5 separate regions of the Homo sapiens genome follow, and all the other regions are linked to region 5. Evidence: promoter capture Hi-C in 16 types of primary human blood cells and fetal thymus (Javierre and others, 2016). All regions are on one chromosome and are shown on one strand. The core of a region is centred on a gene start or on the middle of the fragment in contact, and the rest is flanking DNA. Distances in the headings are between cores, read along the strand shown.

The links. The method cuts DNA at HindIII sites, captures the fragments that hold promoters and counts their contacts. A CHiCAGO score of 5 or more calls a contact.
Region 1: a contact is called between a fragment that was not itself captured here and the fragment with the promoter of ATP2B3 in region 5, in 14 of 17 cell types (M1 macrophages, total CD8 T cells, non-activated CD4 T cells and 11 more). The highest score is 12.1, in M1 macrophages.
Region 2: a contact is called between the fragment with the promoter of PNMA5 here and the fragment with the promoter of ATP2B3 in region 5, in 2 of 17 cell types (total CD8 T cells and activated CD4 T cells). The highest score is 5.3, in total CD8 T cells.
Region 3: a fragment that was not itself captured here is called in contact with the fragment with the promoter of ATP2B3 in region 5 in 1 of 17 cell types (neutrophils); the score reaches 6.5 in neutrophils.
Region 4: a fragment that was not itself captured here is called in contact with the fragment with the promoter of ATP2B3 in region 5 in 4 of 17 cell types (non-activated CD4 T cells, total B cells, activated CD4 T cells and 1 more); the score reaches 6.6 in non-activated CD4 T cells.

The regions. Positions count from the first base shown.
Region 1 is chrX:152,975,829-152,979,285 of GRCh38, reverse strand. No RefSeq gene overlaps it. Among named protein-coding and RNA genes, the nearest start is that of PNMA5, 17 kb to the left of the region's middle. The HindIII fragment of the contact is 177 bases long and covers 1,595-1,771 here.
Region 2 is chrX:152,992,578-152,996,486 of GRCh38, reverse strand. PNMA5 (PNMA family member 5) reads left to right here and starts at 2,371. Exons shown (of 4, transcript NM_001184924.2): 1 at 2,371-2,454; 2 at 3,701-3,830. The HindIII fragment of the contact is 6,257 bases long and covers 1-3,296 here.
Region 3 is chrX:152,810,937-152,814,417 of GRCh38, reverse strand. No RefSeq gene overlaps it. Among named protein-coding and RNA genes, the nearest start is that of CETN2, 18 kb to the left of the region's middle. The HindIII fragment of the contact is 1,089 bases long and covers 1,084-2,172 here.
Region 4 is chrX:152,928,031-152,931,929 of GRCh38, reverse strand. It overlaps ZNF185 (zinc finger protein 185 with LIM domain), which reads right to left. Exons shown (of 25, transcript NM_001395254.1): 13 at 3,269-3,355; 14 at 154-258. It overlaps LOC105373372 (a long non-coding RNA gene), which reads left to right. Exons shown (of 3, transcript XR_007068369.1): 2 at 1-955; 3 at 1,044-1,675. Among named protein-coding and RNA genes, the nearest start is that of ZNF185, 32 kb to the right of the region's middle. The HindIII fragment of the contact is 4,438 bases long and covers 1-3,899 here.
Region 5 is chrX:153,516,388-153,519,814 of GRCh38, reverse strand. ATP2B3 (ATPase plasma membrane Ca2+ transporting 3) reads right to left here and starts at 2,173. Exons shown (of 22, transcript NM_001001344.3): 1 at 1,940-2,173; 2 at 1,264-1,383. The HindIII fragment of the contact is 7,787 bases long and covers 1-3,284 here.

The DNA of each region.
Region 1 (3,457 bases), core at 434-2,933, 540 kb after region 5:
TTATGGTGAAGGTGGGGAGAAATGGTTTGCCTCTGGATCTGTTTGGCAGGGAGAGTTAACAGGCTAGGCTGATGGGCTGGAAGTGCAGTGGGAGATCAGCAGGTGATGTGTAGGTTTTGGTCTATGCAAGCTGAAGAATGGGACTGCCATTTACGGAGCTGTGGATGGCAATGCATAGAGCATGGCTTCCATGGTTGAGTATGAAATGACAATTAGACTCCCCAGGTGGAAATGAGCTGTGGGAAGTTGAAACACAAGTCTGAAGTTCAGGAAGATGATGTGGGCTGGAGCAGCTGCAATTCCAGAAGGAGGCAGTGTATACTGTATCTGTTGAAGCCTGGACCCCAGTGATACAACGCAGTGAGTGCAGATAGAAAAGCGAAGGGGTCTAAGAACAAAGTCCTAGAGTACTCCAAAGTTGAGAGAATGGGATGATGAGAAAGAACCAGCAATGGAGATAGAAAAGGAGTGACCAGTGAGGTGGAAGGAAAGGCAGAATGGGCCTAGAGGCCTAGCAAAGGGAATGGACCTGATATGGTTTGGCTCTGTGTCCCCATCCAAATCTAATCACGAATTGTAATCCCCACACGTCAAGGGAGGGAGCCATAATTCCCACATGTTGAGAGAGGGAGGTGACTGGATAATGGGGGCAGTTCCCCCCATGCTGTTCTCGTGATAGTGACTTCTCAGAGATGTGATGGCTTTATAAGCGTTGGCATTTCCCCTGCTTGTACTTCTCTCTCCTGCAGCCTTGTGAAGAAGGTGCCTGCATCCCCATCACCTTCTGCCATGATTGTAAGTTTCCTGAGGCCTCCCAGCCATGTGGAACTGTGAGTCGATTAAACCTCTTTCCTTTATAAATTACCCAGTCTCAGGTATTTCTTTATAGCAGTGTGAAAACAAACTAATACATGTCCACTGGACCAAACGCTGCTGCTCAGTCAATGAGGCCTGAGAAGTGTGCATGGGGTCTAGCAATGTGGTGGTCATTGGGGACCTTAGCACTAGCATTTTTAGTACCATGGTGGAGGTGAGAGCCTCAAAGAAGTGGGTTCAAAAGAAAATGAAAAAAGAGTAAAGACTTTCATGTTTATTTAGCACCTGCTTCCTATCATTGACCAGAAGGACAGGGTCTTTGATTTGTCACTGGTGTGTCCTCAGTGCCTACTATAGTGTGTGGCCCACAGTGGGTGCTCAGGAAATATTTAAATTATTAAATGGATGAATGAATGAATGATTCTTTCTCATCCTTCAGGTTTCAGTTCAGAGGTCACCTCCCCCAGAATACCATCCTTAGCCCCAGAAATCCAGGTGACACACCTCTGTGCTCCTTTAGCTATTGCGACTGAAATAGGATTGTTGCTTTGTCTTTCTCCCCATGAGATGGTCACTCCACAAATTCACAGATTGTCTGTCTTGCTCATTGATGTATCCCCAGTGCCCCACAGAAGGCTTGATGCACTGTACAAGGAAAGTGAGTAGCCTTGAGGGGTGGAGCTGAGTGCAGGGGAACATTAAAGAGGGCCTGGAAGATAGCCTCCTTTTGTATAGCAAACTCATACTAAAGCCAAATATCATGTCCTTGTGAAAAGCTTCTCTGTTAGATGTGGTGGTATGTGCATCTGTAGTCTCAGCAACTCAGGTGGCTGAGCCTGGATAACTGCTTGAGCCCAGGAGTTTGAGGTTGCAGTGAGCTACGACCATGCCACTGCTCTCCAGCCTGGGTGACAGAGTAAAAATCTGTCTCTAAAAACAAAAATGTAAAAAAGCTTCCCTGACTAAGTGTTGTGGGAAGTCAGGGACCCCGAACGGAGAGACCAGCTGGAGCCGTGGCAGAGGAACACAAATTGTGAAGATTTCATTTTAACATGGACATTTATCAGTTCCCAAAATTAGTACTTTCATAATTTCTTATGCCTGTCTTTAATCTCTTAATCCTGTTATGTTCAAAAAGAAAGGGAGAGATGTTGCGGGAAGTCAGAGACCCTGAACGGAGGGACTGGCTGGAGCCACAGCAGAGGAACATAAATTGTGAAGATTTCATTTTAGTATGGACATTTATCAGCTCCCAAAATTAATGCTTTTATAATTTCTTATGCCGGTCTTTACTTTAATCTCTTAATCCTGTTATCTTCGTAAGCTGAGAATATACATCAGGTCCACTCAGAACCACTATTGTGTTAACTGTACAAACTGATTGTAAAACATGTGTGTTTGAACAATATGAAATCAGTGCACCTTGAAAAAGAACAGAGTAACAGCGATTTTTAGGGAACAAGGGAAGACAACCATAAGGTCTGACTGCCTGTGGGGTCGGGCAGAATAGAGCCATATTTTTCTTCTTGCAGAGAGCCTATAAACAGACGTGTGCAAGTAGGGAAGATATCACTAAATTCTCTTCCTAGCAAGGAATATTAATAATTAAGACCCTGGGAAAGGAATGCATTCCTGGGGGGGGAGGTCTATAAACGGCCGCTCTGGGAGTGTCTGTCTTATGAGGTTGAGATAAGGATAGAAATACGCCCTGGTCTCCTGCAGTACCCTCAGGCTTACTAGGATTGGGAAACCCCCAGCCCTGGTAAATTTGAGGTCAGACTGGTTCTCTGCTCTTGAACCCTGTTTTCTGTTAAGATGTTTATCAAGACAATACATGCACAGCTGAACATAGACCCCTATCAGGAGTTCTGATTTTGTCCTTGCTCTGTTTCCTCAGAAGCATGTGATCTTTGTTCTGCTTTTTGCCCCTTAAAGCATGTGACCTACTCCCCATTTGTACACCCCCTCCCCTTTTGAAATCCTTAGTAAAAACTTACTAGTTTTGTGGCTCAGGTGGGCATCACAGTCCTACCAATATGTGATGTCACCCCCGGAGGCCCAGCTATAAAATTCCTCTCTTTGTACTCTTTCTATTTCTCAGCTGGCTGACATTTATGGAAAACAGAAAGAACTTACGTTGAAATATTGGGGGCGGGTTCCCCCGATAACCAAGCAGCCCAGAGTAGGTCACTATATTATAGCATATAGGTCAAGGCTGCAGTGAGGGCCTTGACCCTGTCTCCAAAACATACCCTGTATGTTTTGTTCAGAGCACTTATCACAACAGTATTTTGTTGTGGGATGTTTGATTTACTCCTCTCCTCTTACACTGTGAGCTCCACAGAAATACAAACTGTGTCTACTTTACTGGGGCCCCCACGTCTGGCACATGGGTAGACATCCAATCAATGCTTGTTGAGTGATTAAGTGACCAACTGGAACATCAAGGTGCTGATCAAAAGAAGGCATCGATGGGCAGAAGACATTTGTGGGAGGAGATACTGAAGCAGGGGGATCTGCCAAGGGCACTACAGGCAGAGGACATGATAAGGAGGTGATCTGGCAGCCAAGCATTATGCATGCCACGTTGCAGCAAGCTCACAACTGGACAGCTAGCACAATGCGGAGCACAGTGTACAGT
Region 2 (3,909 bases), core at 1,122-3,621, 520 kb after region 5:
GTCTGGCATTGTCATACATAAACACGGGTGACATCCCCTAAGTCTTATCTAAGTCATATGGAAAGGAGGGTTCTTTGCAGGAAGCTGTTTTCTGGAACACAAAGGGCTGAGGGTTTCTTAACCTTCACTGTTTTCCAGGATCACAGGGCTCAGGAAAAATTCAACATTGTCACTATCCCCAATAACTTTTTTTAAAGAAAAGTGCTATGGTTTGAATGTGTCCCCCAGAGTTCATGTGTTGGAAACTTAATCCCCAATACAACTGTTGAGAAGTGGGACCTTTAAGAGGTGATTAGGTGAGGAGGACTCTGCCAGTGTGAATGGACAAATGCTGTTATCTCGGGAGTGGATTTGTTATTGTGGGAGTGAGTTCCTGATTTTTTTTTTAAAAAATGAGTTTAGGCCCCTTTCTTCTCTTTCTTTTGCTCACTCTTACACATGCTTTCACGTCTTGATGCCTGCATGCCAGGCCCTCAGCAGGTGCAGCCCCTTGATCTTAGAGTTCTCAGCCTTCAGAAACATGAGCTAAATAAATTCCTGTTCATTATATGTTACCCAGTCTCAGGTATTTGATTATAGAAGCACAAAACAGACTGAGACAGAAAAAAGAGAGAGAGAGAGGAAGCTAGTCTTCTAGTGAGAAATAGAATGAATTGAAGTATACGTCTGGCCAGGGGAGCACCCAGTAGCCCAGAGGTGACTGAGGCAGAACCTCTTTCCAAAACATCACCTTCTGTGATGTTGTGATACCAGGCAGCTAAGCAATGGCTTTCAGCACTATTTTCTCCTTGTCACATGAAGGAGATTGATTTAATGGGCTCTGAATTGTCTTTTTTTTTTTCCAGACAGGATCTCGGCCAGGCACGGTGGCTCACACCTCTAATCCCAGCACTTTGGGAGGTCGAGGTGGGTGGATCACGAGGTCAGGAGATCGAGACCATCCTGGCTAACACAGTGAAACCCTGTCTCTACTAAAAAATACAAAAAATTAGCCGGGCGTGGTGGCGGGCGCCTGTAGTCCCAGCTACTCGGGAGGCTGAGGCAGGAGAATGGTGTGAACCCAGGAGGTGGAGCTTGCAGTGAGCCGAGATCGCGCCACTGCACTCCAGCCTGGGTGACAGAGTGAGACTCCTTCTCAAAAAAAAAAAAAAAAAAAGACAGGCTCTCACTTTGTTGCCCAAGCTGGAGTGCAGTGGTGTGATCTGGGTTCACTGCCACCTCTGCTTCCCAGGTACAAGCGATTCTCGTGCCTCAGCCTCCTGAGTAGCTGGGATTACAGCTACTCAGCTACTCAGATTACACACCCAGCTGATTTTGGGATTTTTAGTAGAGACGGGGTTTCGCCATGTTGGCCAGGCTGATCTCAAGTGATCTGCCCACCTTGGCCTCCCAAAGTGCTGGGATTACAGGTGTGAGCCACCACACCTGGCTGAAGAAGGTGATATCTGCAAATATCTTTCTCAGTGACCATAAATTTAAAATGTTGTCCGCTTTTAACATATTTATTAAAACAGTACCAGAAAAAGCCTTTTCTTTTTTAATCACAGAGAAAGAAAAACAAATATATTCTGTCACTAAAGGTCCACAACTTCTGGCCCTGAAATGTAATCATAGGCTTCAGACCCTTGCTCCACACAGCCTGGGCAGGGATATGCAGCAAGTAACCTAGCTTTCAGTGGAACCATCCCTGCCTCAGATCTCTTCACGCATTTTTTTAAGATTACCAGGGGATTTGTGTGCACCTTGAAGTGTGCTACCTGTGCCGCACCCACACCCTTTTCTGGAACAGTACTTTCGGGCCGCTGCAAGCCGCAGGACCTTCCCTCTGTGGAAGAAACCTGCTTTGGGAAACGACAGGAAGCAGTTTGGGTACTAGGTGCGTAATGTTTGGTCGTGAAATCAGGAGAATAATGGGAGAATGGAATATTTTCAGTCATCTGGCTCTCAGTGAGCAGCGAAAAAAAACTAATGCCCTTGTGAAATGCAGGCAGTAGCTGTATTTTTTGCCCTCCTCCCCTAGAACAGTCCAATAAAAAATAAACGAGGGCTATGACTCGTTTATAAGGGCGCTCACGTGGCCTATACGTTGCACTGGGTGATTTGCACCCGGCCCTTCACCCATGGGCTTGGGACGCCACAGCTCCCCTCCAATGAGGAAGAGCCACAGTGGCTGCTGGGCCAAATGGCACGTGGCGAGCCTGGCTGCCACCGTCGTCGGCACGGGGGTGGGTGGGGTGAGGAACCACCTTGCAGGAAGTAGGAGGGTTTATGTCACCAGTGCGCAACCGTGAGCGGGCCGTGTGCAGTTCCGCTCATGGGGTAGGGGGGCGGTCGTCACCAGACAACCTCTTCCCGCCACAGCCTCGTGGCGCAGTCAGCACGGAGGCGGCAGCCGCCATAGACGTGTGGTGGTCGCGCTGCGCGGGAACTCCGGCTTGGAGGCACCTCCGGCAGGTACGGAGCTGGACCCCGGGCTCGGACAGCAACCCAGATTACGGGGGAACCCCCCAGTAACTCTTGCTATTTTCCACGGGGTCTAGGGGCTGGTGGCCATAGGTTTCCCTGGAGGCGGGATCCCACTAGATCACACCCAGCACGCCAAGGAATCCCTGCCATTTCCAGGCAGAACTTCAGGGAGACCTGGCCGGGCGCGGTGGCTCACACCTGTAATCCCAGCACTTTGGGAGGCCGAGGCGGGTGGATCACCTGAGGTCAGGAGTTGGAGACCAGCCTGGCCAACATGGGGAAACCCCGTTTCTACTAAAAATACAAAAAGTAGCCGGGCGTGGTGGTGTACGCCTGTAATCCCAGCTACTCAGGAGGCTGAGGCCGGAGAATCACTTGAACCCAGGGGGCGGAGGTTGCAGTGAGCCGAGATACGCTACTGCACTCCAGCCTGGGTGACAAAGCCAGACTCCGTTTCAGAGAAAAACAAACAAACTTCAGGGAGACCTATTCCACCCTTGACCTGCCCGGAGACACTGCAGTCAGGATAGTAGCTCTTGGCCCTTGCCCTTGAGGGAAAGTGGCTTCGAACCTTCCCCTCCTAGATTCTGCCTGCTTCCACTGATGTCGGTGGTGTGGGTGTATGTAGATAACCGGGTGGGGATTGGGGGGAGCAGGGGAATGGAGGTAGGGGATTTGGGGATATCAGTTAGACTTGCCTCGGGGTAGGAGTTGGACTTGGTGAGGGGGCAGGGCTTGGGGTAGGAGTTGGACTGTGGGTGGGGGCAGGGCTTGAGGCACGAGTTAGACTTGGGTGGTGGAAGGGGTTAGACTTGGTGGGGGGCTAAGCTTGGGGTAGAGGTGCAACTTAGTTATAGGCAGAGTTTGGCAGCAGGGGTGCAGGTTTTGAGGTGGGGCTTAGGAAGGGTTGCAACATGGCTGTAGGGGCGGAGCTTGGGAGGGAATGGAGTTTGCAGTGGGGGTAGGGCAGCAACCTTACCTTAGGATCCCTTCTGCCCTACCAGCAGCCCCCCTGCCCCCACCCCCTACCTCCCTCCTCACCTCCCACCCCTCTCACCATTCGTCCCCCGACTCCTCCCCCCGCTCCGCTCCCTCTGTCAGTTGAGCAGTTTCTTCTATCCCTGCACCAGGGTCCTAGTGAACACCTATGCAGAGTCTGAATTGGCATGGCCTGGGCAGGGACATGTGTGTGGGACAGAATCACAGCAAAATACCTCTGCTTTGCCTTGGACAGATCCAGTGAAGCAGGACCCATCACGCCTGAGTCAGGAACTGCCTAACTGGATAGAGTTGAAAAGCAGAGCGAGTCTGAAGTGGCTGTGTTATTGCAGCATCCGCGCTGCCAGCAGGGCCAACCCAGCAAGGTGAGCAGCTGTGAGTTGGGCCCTGTTGGGAGGGGCTCTGGAACCCTGGCAAAGAGTGGGGAGAGGGGACTGCCTGCCA
Region 3 (3,481 bases), core at 379-2,878, 700 kb after region 5:
GAAATCCTAGGAGCTTCCGTGTTTAAGAAGTGGGAAGAGGAGGAGAGGCCAAGAAGGGGGATGGAAAATAAGGAAAGCAACTGCAGGAAACCCAAGAGGATGGAAGGGCACAGAAGCAAAGGGAGAGGAAGTGGTCACCTGGGTGAAGCTAGTGAAGGCTGGAGTTTGCCCTCTGGATTTAGCAACATAAGCTCATTGACCTTAGCAAGAGCAGTTTGTGTGGTGTGGTGGGAGTAGAAATAAGATTGCCGTGGCTTAGGATTGAAAAGTGGCTGAGGAAACAGAGGGCCACATGCAGACGTTTTGAGAAATGTGACCGTAAAAGGGTGGAAAGAGAGTTAGCATGGTAGCTAGTGGCCATGTGGGGGTGGCAGTGGGAGAATTTTCTTTTTTTAATGGGAAAGACTTGAGAATGTTTGATTGTTTAGATGAAAGAAAATACAGTAAGTAAGAGTGTGGTATACTACCAGGAACGAATAAATGGACTATTGGAACAGAAGAAATAGTCTTGAAACAGGCTTATGTGCATATGGCAATCTGGTTTATGGTAGGGGTGGTATTAAAAATTGATGTGAAATGATAGGCCGTTTCTGAGACAGACAGGCATGCACCTATGTATGTGGTAATCTGTGTATATTGTATACTTTCATTTTTCCAGAAAGGATTTAAAACAGCTTAAAAAGATGAATTCTATGCAATAGAGTAAGACAAGCGTTTAAAGAGGGAGAAAATGACGTGGGGACAATGAGGGGAAACATGCATTTAGGTTTTACAACTTTAAGTATCTCTTTGATGCTGACTGCTTTAAACGTCCGTGCTAAGCTGATGTTAAGTATTTTGATCAACTAGTGCTGTGATCTATTAGACTGATAATTCTTTATGTAACTTGCTCTGCAATGTCCCATTTAAGGCAGAGATTCATATTTATTCTGGACGTTGTTCTGAAAAATCATGCAGTTTCTGCTCTTTGCTCCGTGTACTGTGCGACAGCCTTTGACCACAAGCAATAAAACCTGACATGAACGTTAGACAGGCACTGACTGTTCTGGTAGCAGAAATAGCTTCTAAATCAGACAGCAAGCTTGGTTTCATTTTTATATAATCATATCTGTTCCTGACCCCAGATGGCACCCCATGAGCCATCTTCTGCTGTATTTACTCTGAACTCTTTCTCCTAAGCTGTTGGAAACCCCTAAGCCTTTGCTTATCCTTATGTCTACAATGTCCCTTTATTCCCTGTCTCCTCTCAGCAGACTCTTTACAAGATCTAGCTTACCTGTCTGTCACACACTCGAGGGGATGCTTTCAGGATTCCTCCATGCTGGATTTGTACTCTTCTCTGTGCTTCCCCAGCCCTTGTTCTCTTCATCATGGCACGGAAGCCTCGCAGCAGAGAGATGGGATTTTCTTTCTCTTTTTGTAAATAAAGATGGGAGTCTTGCTCTGTCACCCAGCCTGGAGTGCAGTGGCGTGACCTTAGCTCACTGCAGCCTCAAACTCCTGGGCTCAAGCAATCCTCCCACCTCAGCCTCCTGAGTAGCTCAAACTACTGTCACATGTCACCACGCCTGGCTAAAGAAGGTGGGATTTCTATTTAAAAATACAACTGCCATATCAACAAGAATGATGGTTCCATGGGAGTGTACATTTGTTAAATTTTTCACTAAGTTGGACACAATATCTGGGTAATTTATTGTATGTATGTTATACCCCAATAAAGCACCATTAACCTAAAATTGTTTTAACAAAAGAAGAAAGAAGAAAAATCTCCTTAACTATCTGCAGTTGCTTTTGCTTTTCAGGCGAGTAACATGGTTGTCCCTGGGTAGATAGCTCTTTGTTTAGGAAGATACCTGGCTGCCTCTGGGTTGAAATGAGGGAGTCACAGAGAGAGCTGAATTGCTCCTCCACATAAAGGCAACAGAATCTGTGATTTCCTGATGTAGCTACTTTAATAGTAAAGGAAGAATGTTCCCTTAGTGCTGGTGTTCATGAACCCCATGCACCTGGAACTCTGGTGTGTGACACTTATAAAGGCTTGTCATATTCACTCTTTTGTTTGGTCCTTAGGGTTAGGGTAAATGTTGATATGGCTCCAGAGTCCTTCTGTCAAAGGATCCAGCCACGGCAGTCCTCTTAGTCTAGGGCAGGAATGCAAACCACAGGGAAGCTTTGAGTCTGGGGTTGGGAGATCTGTGCCAGGAAGTCCCTGAGCCCACAGGGCAGCAGAGGGATGGGCATGCCTAGGAAAGGGATTCAGACCTTCTGAATTGGGCGAATTGGGGTGCAATTCCCCCTAGGCTGGTGGAGTGGAAAACACAGGCTTAGGGACAGATCAAGCTGCGTTCAAGTCCTGGCATGGCTGCCTACTGGTTTGACCCTGAGCAAGATAGTTAACCCCTTAAAGTCTTGGGCCCTTTCTCTGTGAAAGAGTCATAGGCTTTATTTCACAGGAGTGGGAGGAATGAAGGATGTTATACTAGTCTGCTCCAGCTACCATGACAAAGCATCACAGACTGGGAGGCTTAAACCATAAAAATGCATCGTCTCCCAGATCTGGAGGCTGGAAGTTGGAGACCAAGGTGTGGGCAGGGTTGGTTCATTCTGAGGCCTCTGTCCTTGGCTTGTAGATGGCCCACTTCTCCCTGCGTCCGCACATGGTTCTCCCTCTGCACAAGTCTGTGTCTGAATCTCCTTTTTTAACATGGACACCAGTCATATTGGATCAGGGACCACCCTAACGGCCTCATTCTATCTTAATTACCTATTTAAAGGCCCCATGTCTAAACAGTCACATTCTGAGGTACTAGGGCTTAGGAATTCAATATATGAATTTTGGGGGACACCAGATAGCCCCTAACAGGTGTTGTCCTGCTGTCACCTCCTCAGCTCCTATTCCAATTGTATTTTCTTAATGCTGTCTGCTTCCCTACGAGCCTGAGAGCTCCCTAAAGCCTGGATTTCTCCAGTTCTGAGTTGGATCCTTAGAACAAGTGAGGGAGCTGTGATTCCAGCTACCCCTACCTTTCTGCCACGGGAACCCCAGGAATGCCTTCCCACACTGAAGGCCTGTTTCAGTCTAGTTGCTGGTGCCTGAAAGCAGCTAAGTGCAAATGCATTAGCCCCTGAGGTGCACTTTCAGTCACGTGAACTTAGACTAAGTACATCTGCTCCCTACGGGTCAGCTTTCTCTCTTATAAAATAAAGGTTTTAGCTAGGACTGGCTATAAAACTTGTGGGGCCTAGTGCAAAATAAAAATTCAGGGCCCCTTGTTTAAAAATTATTAAGCATTTCAAGTCAGTGGCAGTAGAGCATTAATTCAAGCGTGCAGAGCCCTTCTAAGTGTGGGACGCTGTGTGACTGCTTAGGCTGCACACTCCTGAGACTGGCCTTCGTTCTAATCTTGGACCTTCTCTTGAAACCGAGCAGGTGTATACTGTGCGATAATCTTGGGAAAAGTGCTTTAGAAACAGCCAAGTG
Region 4 (3,899 bases), core at 796-3,295, 590 kb after region 5:
TACCCCAGGTACTGGGGGAACAGTGGGAACAGGACCTTCCTGGCCCCAGCTGCATCCATTGACATTGCACCGGAGGCCATGGAAGTCCTTCAGCTGGGTGTATGTGGGCTCCGTGTTCTGGGAATGAAGTGTCTGCTTCCTGCACTGAGTTACCTTGCAGCATCTGTGTTGGGGGCCCTGAAAGCCTCCTCACCAGCCAAGTCCCTCTGGAGCTCTCTGGAGCAGGGGGCCTCCTTGTCTTTGTTGCCTGGGGAAGACCTATGGAGGAAAGAAATGGAAGTTAACCATGCAGCAGCCATTCACACTCAGGTGTGGGCTGTTACCTCATCCTCAAACGCCAGCTGTCTCCACGGAGCTTAAAACCTGCTACTGGGCCGGGTGCAGTGGCTCACGCCTATAACCCAGCATTTTGAGAGGCCGAGGCAAGAGGATCACTTGAGCCAGGAGTTCAAGACCAGCCTGAGAAACACAGCTAGACTCCATCTCCACAAAAATATTTTTGAAAGTTAGTCAGGAGTGGTGGTGTGTGCCTGTGGTCCCAGCTACTTGGGAGGTTGAACCTGGAAGGTTGAGGCTGCAGCGAGCTGTGATGGCACCACTGCACTTGAGCCTGGGCACACACAGCAAGATGCTGTCTTAAAAAACAGAACCAAAAACAAACAAACCCTGCTGATTGACAGATTGGCCAATTATCAAAACTTCATTACTAATAGCTACTGTTTTTTGTTTTTTGTTGTTGTTGTTTTATAGCTACTGTGCTGGGATTACAGGTGTGAGCCACTGTGCCTGGCAATAGCTACTGTTGATTGAGCATTTGAGCCTGTTCTCGTGACTTTATATGCATTAACTCTGCAAATCAACCCCAGGATATGGGCACTGTTATCACCCATGCCCATCTTTCAGATGAGCAAACGGAGGCACACAAAGCCCCTGTGATTTGCCCCAAATTTCACAGGTAATAAGAGGAGTAGCTGGGATTTGAGTTCTGGACTATATCCCTGATCCTAATCTCCTAATTTAAGCCCCCTTCTGTTCTCCTTCAGGTCCTCAGGGAGCCCCATGTTGTCAAATCCAGGAGAGACAGTCCCATCATTATTTCAAACCACCATTCAGTACTGCTGACCCAGTGGGCCACTCCAGCCTTCTCACCACCCCTCCTCCCTTGATCCTGTCAACACCACCTGCCTACCTCCCTGGCCACACACCTTCCTGGTCTCCGCCTTTTTCTCCTCCCTTTGGCGTGCTCCACCACTTGCTGGGCTGTCTCCTCCCCTCCCAAGGTGTCAACTGCCACCCTTGAAGCAGGGATCTCCACTTGTTCCTGCCTCTCCTTTATACTGGCCTGCACACCCACTAACTCCCAACTGGCCCTCAGGAGGCCCACTCTCAACATGGCGAGAAGAGACTGCCCTCGCCCAGCTGTCCCCAGGAGGGCTGGCCAGGTGGCTGCCACCTGCATACTGAGGTCGGTGCCCAGCTTCCATTGGCTCACCATGAGCCCCATGTAAAGCTAGTTTACGCTCATGATTTCAGCTCTATTCTGTCTGCATATAACGTGGAAATCTCTTGAGCCCTAATCACTCTCTCAAACCTCAATCACAAACCTTAAAATACCTCCCTCCTGGAAATTTTGACTTCAATGCCTACGAATAAACTCGTCAAATGAGTTCACTCAGCAAATGCCAAGTCTTTCCATCACCCCTCTCTGTCCCCCTGCTCCCTGCCCCAACTAGTACAATGAGCTATGGTGCAGAAGGTGGAAGGTGGGAGTAGGGCAGGCTGAGCGGATCTGCCTGCTCTGGACCATGTGACCTTGAGCAAGTTACTTAACCATTCAGGGTCTCAGTTTCTTAATCTGTAAAATGGGCATAGTGATTGTATCTACATCCATGCAGAATGGATGCTGCCATGCAGAATCGACAAGCCCTCAGATGCTGCCTGGGGAAGAAACTCAGGAGAAGGACATGACCCAGAAGACAGGACATTTGAGGTGGAACAGAAAGATGAAGAGGGGAAAGGGCATCTCAGGCAGAGCCTCCAGCCTGCACAGAGAAAGGCCCAGGGAGGGAGGAGCCTGCAGGTGGGGCCAGGTACTGAGTTCAGGCTGCAGAGCATAGTGGGAGGGGCTTTGCAGGGCTTTCTGCAGGGGGCTGGCATAACTACTTCTGCCCTTTGGAAACATCACCCAGGTAGATGTGGAAGGGAGTCCAGGGATGGGACAGTAGGAAACGGTCGCAGACAACTGGGTGAGTAGCAGTGGAGGCCTGGGCCAGGGGCAGAGCAATAGGGATGGAAACATCTCTAAAATAAAGTGGACAGGACTTGGTGCCTTGGGGGCAGAATTAAAGTGGGAGGAGCCAAGGAGGAGGGTAAAGGGACCTAGAGATCGCTCAGGACTCATCTTGGATGTCAATTCCTCCAGGAAGCCCTCCCCAAGCACTCCCACCCACCACACTGTTGAGAGGCCTCTGCTCGAAGTTCCTGCCACCCCAGGGATTAAGGGATGACCTTCAGTGTACACTCCCGCTTCTCTCCCCAGTCCCTGGCCTTCACAAGGTAGGGGCCCAGTCTCCCTGCTCGGATCTCTCCTAGCCTCCACCCCAGCCCCCGAATCCTGCCTGCATGTCACCTGGCTGTCTGACCCCCACCCCAGGGCAGAGGCTGAGCCCCTCGTGCTCCCTGCTGGTTGTGGCCTCCTTGACCCACCCCTCCCCAGCACAGAGCCTAGTGGCATGGAGAGCTGTGGACTCTGACCCAGTGACCCCACTCTATTCCCAGTGGCCCTCTCACACAGGCAGGGCAATGGCCTCAGTGGCCTTCACGGGCTCCTTAGACCCAATCCTCCTCCCACCCCCACCAACATCCCCAGCACGGCTGACTGGTCCCATCTTCAGCAATTGGCAGGGTTGAGCTGTCACTTCCCAGGGGCTCCTGGCACACAGCATCTCTGGCTGACCTCATTCATGCTCATGTCGGCGTCTGCCTCCCCCACCAGGCAGATGGCAATTCCAGCCAGGGGGTCCTGTTCACTACTGTGTCCCAGGGTCGGGCCTGTGCCCTTACACAGACTAAGCGCTTGCTCCATAATGGTTTTCTGAGTGAAAGAATGAGATGGGGCAGAAAACCCAGGTCGACCATGCCTCCCATCAACCTGTTGGCCCTACAGTGGCAGAGCCGGCCCTAGGCCTCATCATTTGCCACCTGAGGCTGCTGCTTCCATCTCTAGAATGGTGTCCAGGGAGCCAGGACAGCAGCAGGACCCCCATACCTCATGCCTTCCACGTCTGGGGCCACCAGGCGGAGTCCTGCCCTGGGTGTCAGGATCTGCAGGCGGACAATTTCCTCACCTCTTGAGCTGCGGGCCAAAGGAGAGACCCAGTGGGTTGCAGGTGAGAAAAGTCTCCCCCTTCTTGGGCTGGTGAGTGCGGTGGGCCGCCCAGACCCACTGCCCCCTTTTGATGTGCTCTCATCTCCTCCTTGGCCTTGAGCCTTGTTGGTGCTGCAGCTGAGCTCGGGCCACTGACCTGTAGGCCCCTTCCCCGGTCTCCCACCCCTGACCTGAGCCCAGCCCTCCCTCAGGCACAGCAAGGGCCCTTCTGGGTAGAAATGAAACCTCCCAACCCGTGCTTCTACCAACCATTTGCAGGGGCAACCGCAGCCTGTGACCCCACCAGGGTATCCAAAGTGGCCATTTGTGAGGCCAGGGGTAGTTCTGCATTCATGGACTGGTGGGGACTGAGGGGTACGAGAGACTGAGAAAACCCACAGACCAAATATGGAATGAAAACCAGTGGGAGGGGATGTCGCAGACTCGGGGATGAGGACAAAGGGCCCCTTTGAGCTTTCCTCTTGCCAGCCACGCTCAGAGCCCTCCCCCAGATGACCACAGGCCACCCCGG
Region 5 (3,427 bases), core at 924-3,423:
CTGCCCGTTACCCCCTGCTGTGTGAGAGCATGCCTACTCCTGCACTCAAACCACCTGGCCGTGCAGGGCACGGCCCAGGTGGAGCTGATGGAGACTGGCTGTGTCCTTGGCTGTCCCCCGCCTCGGGGCCTGCAGCAGTGACAATCAATGGCCGGGGACCACAAGTTCCCAGCCCGTTCCGATGGCGCAGACTTGAGGGGCTGACCTCACCCTGGGACCCTCTGCTGGGTCTCAGCTGTGTCCCACAGGGGCCCAGGCATCCCCAGCCCTCTCCTCGGCATCCCAGTGCCCCTTTAATGAGCCACATGGCTTCGGTTTCCTCATCTGTGAAAAGTGGCGGCGGGGGGTGGGGGTTGGGGATGAAAACAGCCATTCACTCGTGTGGTTGAGGTGAGACTCAGATGGAGCTCAGGAAGTGGGGCTGGTCTTTGATTATTACGATAACCTCTCCCCGCCTCCCTGCCCCACCAGGTTCATAGGAATGTCCCTAGCCATCTGCTCATGAAGGAAGGGGCCTCAATTCAGGGCTGAATCCCTTCTCCTCTTGGGGGCCTCAATGATCCCATCTGAAAAATGGGGACAAAAATCCAGGCCTTGCCTCTCCTGTTCAGTGAGTCTGCAGATTCAGTGAGGTCAAGGTCATGAATATGCCATGCAGAAACCAGGTGCCCACTCTGTGCCAGGCCTGTGCAAATGAAGAGCCAGTCCTTGCCTTAAGATGGTCACTGACTAGTGAGGGGCAATGGCAGGGGGTGAGGGCACAGATCCTAGTGGGCAAAGGAGGGGAGGAGGTGCAGGGGGTGCCTGCCAGACTGGTGCCCAAGTCAGCCAGGGGAAGTCGGCTGACGTTTAGGGTGCCAGTGGAATTCAGGATGGGGGCCAGTTGGGGACAGGCTGGACTTGATCCTTTAGCAGGCAGGGACTCCTTTGAGGTCGGAGGCCCTGGGCTTCATCTTTGAAAGTTATATGACCTCGCCAGGAAATGGCAAGCATCTCGTTGAGGAATTCTGGTCCCTTCCCTGCCCCTTGAGTGAGCGAAGGAGCATTTCCACAGTCTCTCCTAAACCCTCATGGAGCCCTCACCGCGGGCTCTCCAAGACTCCCTCCAGTCCTGACCTGCCCCGGCGCCATGCCCCTGCCCTGCCTCCCACCCCTCCTCAGCCGGCTGGCTGAGCCACCAACCCCCAGAAGGGCCAGCAGAAGGAAGGACACCAGGTCACAGAGAGAGAAGCCCATCGTCTCAGGCTCTGGGAGATGCCGCACCTGCCATTCCAAATTCCAGAATCTTAAAGCCAGAGCTTTCACCCGTGAGAAAACGCAGGCGGCCACAGGAAAAGCTGGCTGGCCAAGGTCACACAGGCGAGGAGGGGGAGACAGCCGTTCCTGGAGGGATGGAGAAGTTACCTAAGTGCGGCCCCGGGCGGCTTCTCGTGGGCACTGCCCATGACCGCGGTGGGGTCTGCTGGGCAGCCGCGTGGGCGTGCGGGGAACGGTGCGGGAAGGCGAGAGGGGAAGGATGATACAGTGTGAGGGCGCGGGGGGGAGGGGGTGCCCGAGGCTCCGGGAAGGTGCGTGCGCACTGGCGGGCTCCCGGCCCAGATCCCGCGCCCCCGGCTGCGCCCACCCTGAGCCCCGGCCCGCAGCCCCCAAGGGCCTTGTTCCTCAGACACGGATGCGCGTGCGCGCGCGATGCGGGGCGCAGGGTGCAGGGTGCGGGGCGCTGCCCGCCGGCCTGGGGCCCCGGGGTGACGCGCGGCCGCAGTGCCGCAAGGACACGCAGGCCCGGCGCGGGGCTCAGGTGCCTCGGGCGGGGACCCGTGTCCCCCTACCTGCCGCCGCACCACCTGCCGGGTCATCCTCCCATCCCCACCCGCGCCTTGTGCCCGCGCCGCGCCCGCGCCCACCCCGGCGGCGCCCGCGCGCCCAGAGCACCACTTACCCGGGCATGGGCACGGCCGCCGCCGCGGCCTCGGCTCCGGCGGGCGCTGTCGCTGCGGGCGGGCGTCAGGCGGGCAACGATCCGCTCCAAGGATGGAAAGGCCTGGGCACGGGGCGGCCTGGCCGGCGGCGCGGGACGCGACCCTCTGCGGCGGGCGAGGGCTGCGGCCGAGTGCTCCCCACGCTCTGCACCGGCGGCGGGCGACGCGGCGCGCTCGGCTCCAACCGCAGCTCTGAGCGCGGAGGGAGGGAGGGGGGAGGGGAGGGAGCTGGGTGAGGAGGAGGGAGGGAGGAGGGAGCGGGCGCGGGGGGCGGTGCGCGGCGCAGGGGCCTCGGGGCTCAGGAGCTACGCGCCCGGTGCGCGCCCTTCTGTCCCCAGGACGCGCGAGGGTGCCCGCCCTTCCTGGCCTGGCATTGCCCCCAAAGGGCACTGGCCGAGTGGGGGTGGGTGGGGATGGAAACTGGGGGACCATGGCACCTGTGAGTGCAGAGAGAGCACCCTGAGCTTGCGACTGAGGCTGCCACTACCTCTCCAGACCCTGCCCTCTAGGTGCGTCTCCCCAACAGTAAAATGGGGCACAGAGCCGGGTGGCTGATGTGTAGCGTGGGGTCCTTGGGTCTTGCCTCAGTGGACTCCAAGGCATTGGTGGTCTCCTGCAAACTCCATTACCTGTTGAGAGTACGGGCGTCCAAATGCGTCTTCCCAGAGGAAGCGGCGCTTACCGGAGATCCTCACCGTCGGTTATCACGGGAACACCACCGTTAGGCAGAACACAGAGACTGCACACAGGTGGGCACCAGAGACAGACACGCAGGGGCACATACATCCCCGGTGTGAGTGGAGACAGACACACAGACAAACCCCAGTGCAGACACCTGTCCACACCCACAAGCACGCGTTCCCACCTACCTGGAAAGAGACCCCCGTGCCTGCCGGTGGACCCCCAGGCTTCCCAGCTCCAGGGGCTGTGGAGGCCTCTGACCCCAGGGCCGGCCTTTGCGAGCATTCTGAGCAGCGAGCAGAGAATGCTCGCTGGGGCACAGGTAGAGGCTCTGGGCGGGAGCCTGAGGCAGGTGCAAGAGGCCTGGACGCAGCCTCAAATTCTTTCTTGCCTTGGACAAAGAGGGCCCTGGACATGCTGTGTGCCAGACCAGAGCTGAATACTGGGGACACAGCAGGGACCACAAAGCAGGGAGTGGCCGTCGGATGGCAAATGTGCTCACGCCGCTGGGGTCGGAGCTATGGAACCCCATTGATGGGGAGCCATGAAAGAGGCTGCTGGCGGCTCAGGGAAGGCCTCTTTGAGGAGGCACCACTGTGCTAGGGACCAAAAGGACAGAAAGCTTCTGCTGCCCCTGAGACCAGGGAACCGTCACAACCCCCACAGACTGCCCCTCCCTTCCACAGGAAGCAGCTGGTGCCGTGGAAAGCTGAGGTTCGCGCACGCACGCACACACACACTCATACACCTGGTCATGTGTGCGCTCA